Regions from separate parts of the Homo sapiens genome. Here region 2 is linked to region 1. Evidence: promoter capture Hi-C in 16 types of primary human blood cells and fetal thymus (Javierre and others, 2016). All regions are on one chromosome and are shown on one strand. The core of a region is centred on a gene start or on the middle of the fragment in contact, and the rest is flanking DNA. Distances in the headings are between cores, read along the strand shown.

Region 1 (4,976 bases), core at 288-2,787:
TCAACAAATGATGCATGGACAACCGGACATGCACATGCAACACAATGAATTTGAATTCTTCTATCGCTCCATGCATAAAAACTAACTCAAAATGGGTCACGGATGTAAATGAAAAGCTAAAACTATAATAATCCTAGAGGAAAACCTAGGAGTAAATCTTTAAGATGTTATTGTAGGCAGTGGTTTCTCAGATAGGACCCCAAAATCACAAGCGACAAAAGAAATTGGACTTAAAGTTAAATACTTTTGTGCTTCAAACATCATCAAGAAAGTGAAAACACAACCCGCAGAAGCAATAAAAATGTCTGTAAGTCATGTATCCGATTAGAGACTTCTATCCAGGATATATAAATAATGCAATTCAATGATAAAAAAGATAAATAGCCCAGTTTTCCAAAGAGTCAAGCATCTGAATATACATCTCTCCAAAAATATACAGATATCCAACAAGCATGTGAAAAGATGTTCAAAGCCATTTGCCAGGTGCACAAACCCAAGACAGTATGAGGAGATGCTACAGGGACTCTGCTGCTTCACAGACATGAAGCGTTGGTGAGAATGTAGGCAGCCGCCTTTGGGGACTTCACATCCCCGCCGCCCCACGCACGGTGAGCTAGTGTTTAAACTTAGCCGAGATCAATACACGCGACTGTGTGCCCGTCAGACCCTGCGCTGCCGGCGGGGCTGGGAGAGGCGGGCGCCAGGAGTGGGCGGGAACCTGGGGGTCAGGCCCCAGCCGCGGGAAGCCGCCCAGGAGCGCGCGAAACCTTCTCCACACCCTTCCAGGCATTTGCCCGCCGCGATTCAGAGAGCCGACCCGTGACCCCTGGCCTCCCCTAGACAGCCCCGCATGTCCAGATGTGCCGTCCCGCCTGCCTCCCGCGACCACTGGCCATCTCTGGGCCTGGGCGCGGTCTCGGCGCCCGCCTGCCCCCGCCAGGAGCCGCAGGTCCAGCCAGTGAAGAAGCCCGCGCTGAAGGAGCCTCTGTGCTCCAGAATCCATCCTCAGTATCAGCGCTGGGGTGGCCTCCTCCAGGAAGCCCTTCTGATTCTCTCATGGGTCGCTCTTCCTCTGCAGACTCCCGGAGCACCCCTGCTCCAAGTACCGCAAGTGGCACTGAGAACTTGGGGAGAGCAGAGGCTGTGCCTAGATTTGTAGGGAGTCCCCGCAGCTCCACCCCAGGGCCTACAGGAGCCTGGCCTTGGGCGAAGCCGAGGCAGGCAGGCAGGGCAAAGGGTGGAAGCAATTCAGGAGAGAACGAGTGAACGAATGGATGAGGGGTGGCAGCCGAGGTTGCCCCAGTCCCCTGGCTGCAGGAACAGACACCTCGCTGAGGAGAGACCCAGGAGCGAGGCCCCTGCCCCGCCCGAGGCGAGGTCCCGCCCAGTCGGCGCCGCGTGAAGAGTGGGAGAGAAGTACTGCGGGGGCGGGGGCGGGGGCGGGGGCGGGGGCGGGGGCAGCCGGGAGCCTGGAGCCAGACCGGGGCGGGGCCGGGACCGGGGCCAGGGACCAGTGGTGGGAGGAGGCTGCGGCGCTAGATGCGGACACCTGGACCGCCGCGCCGAGGCTCCCGGCGCTCGCTGCTCCCGCGGCCCGCGCCATGCCCTCCTACACGGTCACCGTGGCCACTGGCAGCCAGTGGTTCGCCGGCACTGACGACTACATCTACCTCAGCCTCGTGGGCTCGGCGGGCTGCAGCGAGAAGCACCTGCTGGACAAGCCCTTCTACAACGACTTCGAGCGTGGCGCGGTGAGCGCGGGCGGGGCACGGGTGGAGCGCGGGCTGAGGTGCGTCCGGGACCCGGTTTGGACGGCAGAGGCCTGGGCGGGGGCGCCGAGGGCCCGTCGGGGCGGCCCGGACAGGACTGGGGGTGTCCAGGACCCTGTCAGGGAGGGCAGAACTGCGGTGGGGCGTGCCCTGGGCTCCCAGTGGCCGGTGGGTACCCTGGTGGGCAAGCGTCCAGGACCCCTCGCGGCGGCCGCGACCCCTGTCGGAAACGGAGACTTCCCGCGTGCCGCCTGCAAGGCGTCTTCCCTGGGAGGAGAAGGCCCAAGGTTTCCCCTCCACTTCAAGATCTGGGCTCCGAGGCTCCGGAGCCCCCTTCACTGGGCCGCGTTTCTTGTGCCACCTCTTCCTTAGGCTCCTTCTGCAGGTCGCACAGGGAGGGAGAGGCAGATGAGTCATGCTCACAGAACTCTGAGGGCACCTCGGAGCAGCCAGCTGTGAGCCGTGGGGAAGGGTGCACGTCAGCGGGTCCAGAGGCCTGAGTTCTGTCCAGACATGACCACCAGCTCACTCTACCGTCTGTCTGGGCCTCAGTTTCCCCAGCTGAAAATGGAGGGTTGGCTTCAGTCTGGTCCATGAGTCATGGGTGAGCCCAGGCCCATCTGGTGGCTCAGACGGCACCTGGGCAGCTTACATTCTCAGGACAGTCCCCAGAGGAAATTAAAGGGAAGGAACAGAACCCAGGCCAGGAGAGGCTTTTCCTAAATGGAGGGGCTGCACTCCCTCCCAGCAGAATGTACACCAGGGAACACTTCCACGCTAGGTGTGAGGACGCGAGGGAGCCCTCAGCATTTGGAAGCTAGTTCCTAATGCTGATCTGGACCTGAATTCCAGCCCCACGACTCTTTTCCATGAGCATGGGCAGGTCGCAGTTCTCACTGAGCCTTTAATGAAGTGCCTAATCCAGTACCTGGCACAGAGGAAGCGCTCCGTAAATGACTGGTAATAGTCCCAGACATACTGCAGGTGCGCAGGGAATATCAGTTCCCTTCCACCCCACCCCAGCTCCTAACTGGACCAAAAAGATTTAGACTTTACCAAGCTGCCTTCTCACCATTTAGTTTATTATTTGATCAAACCTTGTGAAATTGCTCATAATGGACAAATACAACCGGCAAGTTCATGTTTCAACTGATTACTCTTGGATAAAATTTGTGTTTTAGGTGTGCAGAGCCTAAAGTAAGTAAAAACTACTCTTTTTCTGGATTCCAAGCTCTCCATGGGCTCGATTCCTATCCAGGAGCCCATACCCTCGCTGTAGCACGACATGGCCCTCAGCCAAGTTCACTAGCATCCTGGCTTGAGCTCCCTTCAAGAAGAGTTAGGTGTTGAGTACAAGAGCAACCTTCAGTTGCTTAGTTGCCCCAGTCGGGGAACTGACCCTGAGGACTGCGGTGCCCTGGAGTTAATGTGTCGTCCATTTAGGGTGATGGCACCCTCTGCCATTTCTGACGCACCTTCATTTACTTCCATTATTTCATGGATTCCCCACACCTGGGGGAGAAGGACAGGGTACAGGCTACTTCCCCTTTGTAAGTGCTTCCTCCTCCCCATTCTCCTCCACACATCATAAGGTTCTAGAAGCACAGGCCATTGGTGTGCTCACACTGCACAGCACGGGCACCCCGTGTGTGCTTTCCTCCTGCAGGGGACATGATAACGTGGCCATAGCGGGCTCTTCGGACAAAGAGTGAAGGCACTGTTTTGTCCACTATCTCCCTCTCTCGGTCTGTCTTCCCCTACCCTGAGAAGTCATTCAAATGACATTATAATTAAACACCTCAGCCGGAATCCCAGGGGCAAATTTCAGGAGAGATTTGCATGTCACATTTCCATTGGGTTGAGAGGGCTATAAGTCAGGGGTGGGGCGGGGGGTGGTTGGGGGTGGGGGCTACCGCAGGGTGGGGAACCAGCTAAGGCTGAAAGTTTCCTTGAAAAAATCAGCTTTTGAGAAAGTTCCTGTTGATGCAAAGTTACTCAACACTTTCTCTTGCCCAGCCCAGAACTACTTCCTCATTCTCCCAGCTTGGTATCTGTAAAGACAATCATCCTTTTTGGGTAAAGGTAAAAGAGAAACCCTAGAGGAAGTACTTGCTGAGAAGACAAGGTTATCCCATTTTACAGGGAAAAGTGTTAAAATCTGTATTGTTAACAGTAGTAACGATAACAATAACAATAAAGGTATTTCCACACAATTTAATCATTTCCAAGTTATTGGCAGGTCAACACCCCCCTCCTCCAGGGCATAGTTCAGTCAAATAATGGACAGGACTGATTTTTTCCTTGATAAAGTGAGTCACAGGTCCCTTGTTATTCTCATCAGAGTTCCGCATAGTGATTCAGTCAGGACTGGGAATCAAGTCCTTCGCAGGTGGGATTATCCTATAAACGGTTGTGTCTTCCTTGGCTCCTCACTGTCTGCTGGAGAAAGCCGGGATCCTACACAGAATGGCCCTGTTTCCAGAGGCTAACCCAAGTCTAGGCAAATTTAACAAGTTGATTTATTTCTTTAACTCTGTAAATTTAAAGTAATTCAGATCGGATACGATAACTGTAACAGATCTGAAGATTTCTGAGAAATCTTAGTTGGCCCATTTCATTCTGTGCTGGTACTTTTAAGAAAGCTAAGGGCAATAGCGTGGTGTTTAATATATGATACTTGAATATGTTCAACAAGTGTAGAAAAGTGTTATAATGATTCATGCTTCTTAAGTCAGTGAGTATTCTTACATTCATGAAAAATTAATTCTAGAATACCTCCTTCTTGTGAATGGGAATATATTAGTGGAGCATAAATATTTCTTTGGTATGACCCTCAATCCGTCTCTCATCTCCCAGTCTCCCCCTCTGAGCCATCTTTTCCCTACATTCTGCCCCCTCTTCTGCCTCCTCTTCCTTCCCCTGCTCCCAGTTCCCTAAATGCCCCCCGTTTCTGCTCTCTACCCTACAACTCTCCCTTCTTTTTTGCTCTGAATTTTCCTCTACACTCTGTCTTCCAGCCACCTCTCAGAGGCCCCTTCTCTGCTCCCTCAATCTCCGGCTCTCTGTCCCACATTTTCCCCCTTCTCTGCCCCTTGGTCTCCCTATCCACTACCCCAATCCCTCTCTCCGTCCCTTGTTTTCCTCAGCTCTTCCCCATAGCCTCCCCCTCTCTCATCCCGAGTCTCTGTTTTGTCTGGCCCCCAATCT
Region 2 (5,267 bases), core at 611-3,110, 130 kb before region 1:
CAGGTGCAGTGGCTCATGCCTGTAATCCCAGCACTTTGGGAGGCCGACACGGGTAGATCACCTGAGGTCAGGAGCTCAAGACCAGCCTGGCCAACATGGCAGAACCCCGTCTCTACTAAAAATACAAAATTAGCTGGGCATGGTGGCATGCAACTGTAATCTCAGCTACTAGGGAGGCTGAGGTGGGAGAATCACTTGAACCCAGGAGGCAGAGGTTGCAGTGAGCTGAGATCGTGCCACTGCACTCCAGCCTGGGCGACAGAGCAAGACTCCATCTCAACAACAACAACAACAAAATAATTTGTACCTTCATTGTTAAAAATCTCTATTCTTAACATGAATTAATCAGTTACACAGGTAGCTAAAAAATATAAGGTTACTTTGCCTTTTTCTATTAGACACCTTATGTTTTACTCACCTACACTGCTTTCCCGTACAAAGTACAAATGTCTTACCAGAGGGTGATGAGGTCCAGATGATTTCATATCCACGATCCGAAATTACACTATTACTCTTAAATCATAGGTATAGTTCATTATTTTGAGAGAAGACAGGGTTTGGCAGCAGAGTACTTGCCAAGTAATGGTGAATTGCTGTTACTTCCATTTCTCACCTTTAGGAAGGAGTCATTCATTATTAAACTTACACTTTCTTCTCCAATGTATATACATTACACTGTGAGACAATTTGAATGATGACACTTTTTGGAAAAGCTTTGTCTTTTTATATACATAAGAATGAAGGGTTTTCTGAAAATACATGCAGAAGTCATCTTCACTTGCAAAGGGGAAAAATGTTCCATGTGTAGATCAAAAAACATTTGTATTTGGATTCAGAAATATCTGTTAACCTGTAGCAATTAAAACATCAGGCTGCTTTTTTATATAATAGTTTTTGCTATGATCCTGCAGCCTTTGCTTTTGGGGAAACATTTGGAAGAATGTAGGTAAAGTGAATTTTTAAAGGGTGGGGATGGGTGGGGGCAATGTTGCCTGCCCTGTTTCCAGTCAACTATTATACATTTTTCATAGTGTGTGTGTGTGTGTGTATGAGTGCGCGCGCACACGGGTTTCCCATTGAAAATTACTTGGCTGTAAAGGGGCTACGAAGAAAATACAATGCAAAGTATAATAAAGTTCAGAACAAAAGGAATTTCTGTATGGGTGAAGGACAGAATTATAAATCTATACAACTTCTGACTGTTGTTAAACGTGTTTTAAAAACACATTCCGAGGCCTTGTTGCTTTTTTGTTTCAACTCCTCATTTTTGAATAGACACATATAAAAACAGGAAATGAGTTGGTGTTTTGAGGGAAGAGAGAACCACACTGTGAATTCAACCATTTTCTGTCCCCCAGCCTGGCTCCTACCCTGCATTCACAACTAGACCTGCTTCCAGGAGGGCTCTCGACGCTTCTAAAGGAAACGTTACACAGGCAATGTATGTTGGAACCAGCCTGACATGTAGAAATGCTGATTTTACTGATCCATGTATTCAAAACACTGGAAGTTCCTCTCTTCCCTTTGTAATTCCATGATTTAAAATTTGGTTAATTGCTGGTATCTTAAGTCACAGAGTTAAGACAGTCTAATCTTGCTGGGCTGTGTTGATCAGGTGAGATTCCTTTTAGGTCTATGTAGTAGCCCATGGGAGAGACTAATGCCTTTCTAGTGCTTCAGGGATTATTCTGCTAAGTGTTTAAATAAAGTAGACTTGCCATGACAGAGTAGCCAGTTATCCACTAGTAGATAGGAGGGCTGCCATATTTAAGACCTTCCAGCACCATACCCTTGAGTTTGGGTGTTTTCACCCAGGGGTCCTCTTTTAAAATGGCGTTGCTCTGAGAGGAGCAGTGAGATACTAATTTTCACGGACACTGCCAACAACTTGTCTTATTCACTTTCGTCTCCTAGGAGGAATGGGGCCACCGAGAGCAGCGGGCATCCCTGCGACATCAGAGGATCCTGGAAGGGGAGGTGAAGGCATGAAAACAATCGCAGATTCCAGGCATGGTCTAGAGCTCGGCCCTCACTTGGTAGTAACACAGAATCCTCAGTCAGACATTTCTGTTCCTACGGCAGTTCACAAGAATGGAATGCTGAGGCTTCCTGGTCCAGCTGCCAATAAACTATGCCCACAGTCTTCCCACCGAGAGCCAGACGGAGCTACATTTTACAGGCCTAAGCTGTGGTTTCCTTTCTTTGCTTATGGGACAGGAAGTTTCAGATCCATTCTACGGAGTAATGAAGGACAGCGAGGAGGAAGAGTTCTTACTGTCCATGGCTGGAAAGCAAGGCTTTGCTTCCCAGCATCTATCAGGCAAATGGCAAATGTTGACTCTGATCAATAATGGTCCATTCAAGCTGGAGTGAGTTAAGAGTTAGTTGCACTGTGACTCCAACCTAACGGGATTATTCCATCTTTCATCCAGATCCCACTCTCCTCATTCTTTCTGCTTTACACTTCATATAAATATATGGATCTCCGTGGTGGGGGAGGTACGTAGGTCCAAGTTGAGTAACCTGACCGGCACAAAGAATACTGTATTTGTCTCTTCGTTTCCTCCCTGCTACATACATCTTTTGGTTTCCTGTCATGGGAATATTCCTTTAGAAAAGGCATGAGCTTCCTCTGAGTGTTATTTATGAAACTACATGTTAAGGCTATTGATTAATAAAGGATTTAGATGAATTCCAAAGGGGAGAGCTTTCCAGGATGATAAAACTGCATCAAGAATCATGTTGAAGCTAAACCCATAGGCAAAGACCATGTGCCAGAACACCCTTCCTCACCAGGCCGGGCAGAAGGTGACAGCAGCCCTAGAAGCCAAATCAGATGAGGTGGGTTGCAGGTGAGAAAAGATGTTTTGTTGGGAACAAAGGCTGCAGCTACCAAGAAACTAGCAGCTGAACAGAAGCCCACTGGAAAGAATCCTCCCACAGAAGGAAAGAAGCCTGCTGCATACACCAGTACATTTGTTTATGCTACAAAGATCAAATCATCTTGGGAAGCTTATTTTGAATGAAGACCTGATCAAAGAGGCAGTGAGAAAAAAAAATAAAACAAAAAATACGACTCCAGATCAGGTGTAGAGGAACAAGCAAACTTTTTGGAAACCTTACTGAAGCCTCTTGTATGGTGAAACAAAGCCAGTTTAGAGAGCATCGGGATGAGGTTTAGATTTAAATTCCACTCTCAGAGGAATTCAGCATCCTTATCCTTTTGAGTCTCAGGTTCCACCTGAGTTTATTTCCTAAGGATGAATGCATTTTCAACAGAGCTTGCAAAGGTCACAACCGCATGAGCTCTGGGGGGTTTTCTGGCAAAACACAGGTGCTGAGTTCCACACACTGGGTCCGCATCAGATGAGTCTTATTCAGACCGTTTCCTGCCTATGAGCAATGATATTCATGTTCCATCTCACATGCTCAATGCAGGTGATGTGGCAGAAAGAGCACAGAGGGAGCTCACCAGGGGCTCTGGAAGACCCCAAAGGTTCAGGCCCACAAGGGGCATGGCTCTGCCTGCTCCAGGTGCAAGGGGGGCTTCTCTCTCAGTGTGTCCTGGGGTGGGAGTTGGGGGTGAATGGGTGGAGAATGGGCAAACAGCAAAGTCACTTCTGTGTCCAAATGAGAGCTCTGGAGTTGTGGTGGAAAAAGGACAGACCACACTTCCTGCAACAAGGGAGCACTTTTTCAAGGCAACACTTGTCTTTAGAGGATGTTGACGATGCCCCAAACTTACTGTAGCTGTCAGGGAAATTAGGTGAGCTATTTAGTATCATTCAGTTTCATTTTACAGAATCAGCTTGTTGTTCTTAGACTTTCCTCTGATCCTTTTAGGTCTCAACTTACATATTGCCCTCTTAAAGAAGCTTTCTAGTTCCCAGACTGAGTTAGGAACCCCTACCCCTGCTGGACTCAGTTAGTCCTTTCCACATTGTGCTGTAATTGGCTATACCCCATCTGTCCTTTCCACCAGACTAGGAGTCTTCCGAGGGCCCTGAGGTTCCCAATTTCCGGTGTTTGGACTGGTGCTCTGTAAATGTTTAGGGAATGAAAGGGTAATGAATAAATTAATGAAACAAGTAAGAATCATAGAGCATTAGAAGCACTAAAGAAAAGGTGTAAAATCCATCATCATTTAAATGATATTCAAATGCATATTACCTCCAAGAAATCGTTTCTGCATTCAATTGAGTTCTCAATGCCAAACAAATGAAAAAAGAGGGTGTGGTTGTGGGGGGCTGTGAGAGTAATGGTGCAATCCATGTCACTGTCGTAGTTATCTGGCCATCCAGTACTCCTCAGGTTGCCAAATGCCTTGTGATAGTCTCTGTTGCAATCTTAGGAGAAAAATATGCATAATTAATGTATGCATTCCAGCGTTCAGTGCTCTTTCAACTTCGCAGGAATAATTCAAAAAGATCATTATATGTGAACAAACTTTAGAAAAAGGTAATCCAGCTTCTTCGTTTACCTTTGAGATAATTGAGACCCTGAGCAGTGAAGTGAATTTCAAGCAGCACACACACATGCAATGCAGCAGCTCATTCACACAAACACCCCTACAGGAAGCATGACACAGGAGCCTTCTCCTTTAAAGACGAATACTCGAGGATCCTTTGAACTTTTCTGATCACATTGAGGTGAAGTGGCTAGCATTCAGACTCTCTTTTAGACAAGGACACTACCTCCAAGACAGAGTTTTGCGCAAGGATTTTAAATCCATTTGTGAGTTATTTGTGGGAAATCGTTCTTTACCTTTTTTTTTGTAAAAAAAATCTAAAGTACTTTTGTTTGTTTAACCAAAGGCAGCTTTCATTTGAATCAATTCAAAATAAATATCAAATAAAGTGTTCTGTGAAAATAAACTTCTCAGTGATAGTAATCAGGTAACTCTTTTAAGGCTTTTTGATTTTTACAAAAATAATTTTCTAAGATTTTCAACCTTGTGAAAATACTAAAAACCTCTGAAATATAAACATTAAATGGGTAAATTGTATGACATGAGGATTATATTTTGATAAAGCTCTTGTAAATATATATATATTTCTCATAAATAAATATGTATATTCAGTGTGGTTAAGTGCGTAAATTAACAAAATAACTGGTATATTTTTAAAATCAACTACATAGACGTTGAAGAAAATGCTAGCATTCTAAGCATCTTGGTTAGTATTGTATTCTCTTTACCTCTTTAGAAACCAACTTTAGTAATTTGCTAAATTGGGCCTGGGTTCTAGTTAAGAGATGGGTGTGGTTTT

Evidence for each region. Contacts are between HindIII fragments. The CHiCAGO score rates a contact against its expected background, and 5 or more counts as called.
Region 2: a fragment that was not itself captured here is called in contact with the fragment with the promoter of ALOX5 in region 1 in 1 of 17 cell types (neutrophils); the score reaches 7.3 in neutrophils.

What each region holds. Positions count from the first base shown.
Region 1 is chr10:45,372,679-45,377,654 of GRCh38, forward strand. ALOX5 (arachidonate 5-lipoxygenase) reads left to right here and starts at 1,538. Exons shown (of 14, transcript NM_000698.5): 1 at 1,538-1,751. The coding sequence starts at 1,602. RefSeq lists enhancers at 1,306-1,916, 1,917-2,525. The HindIII fragment of the contact is 7,754 bases long and covers 1-4,976 here.
Region 2 is chr10:45,237,763-45,243,029 of GRCh38, forward strand. It overlaps the pseudogene CUBNP2. Among named protein-coding and RNA genes, the nearest start is that of OR13A1, 75 kb to the right of the region's middle. The HindIII fragment of the contact is 2,299 bases long and covers 712-3,010 here.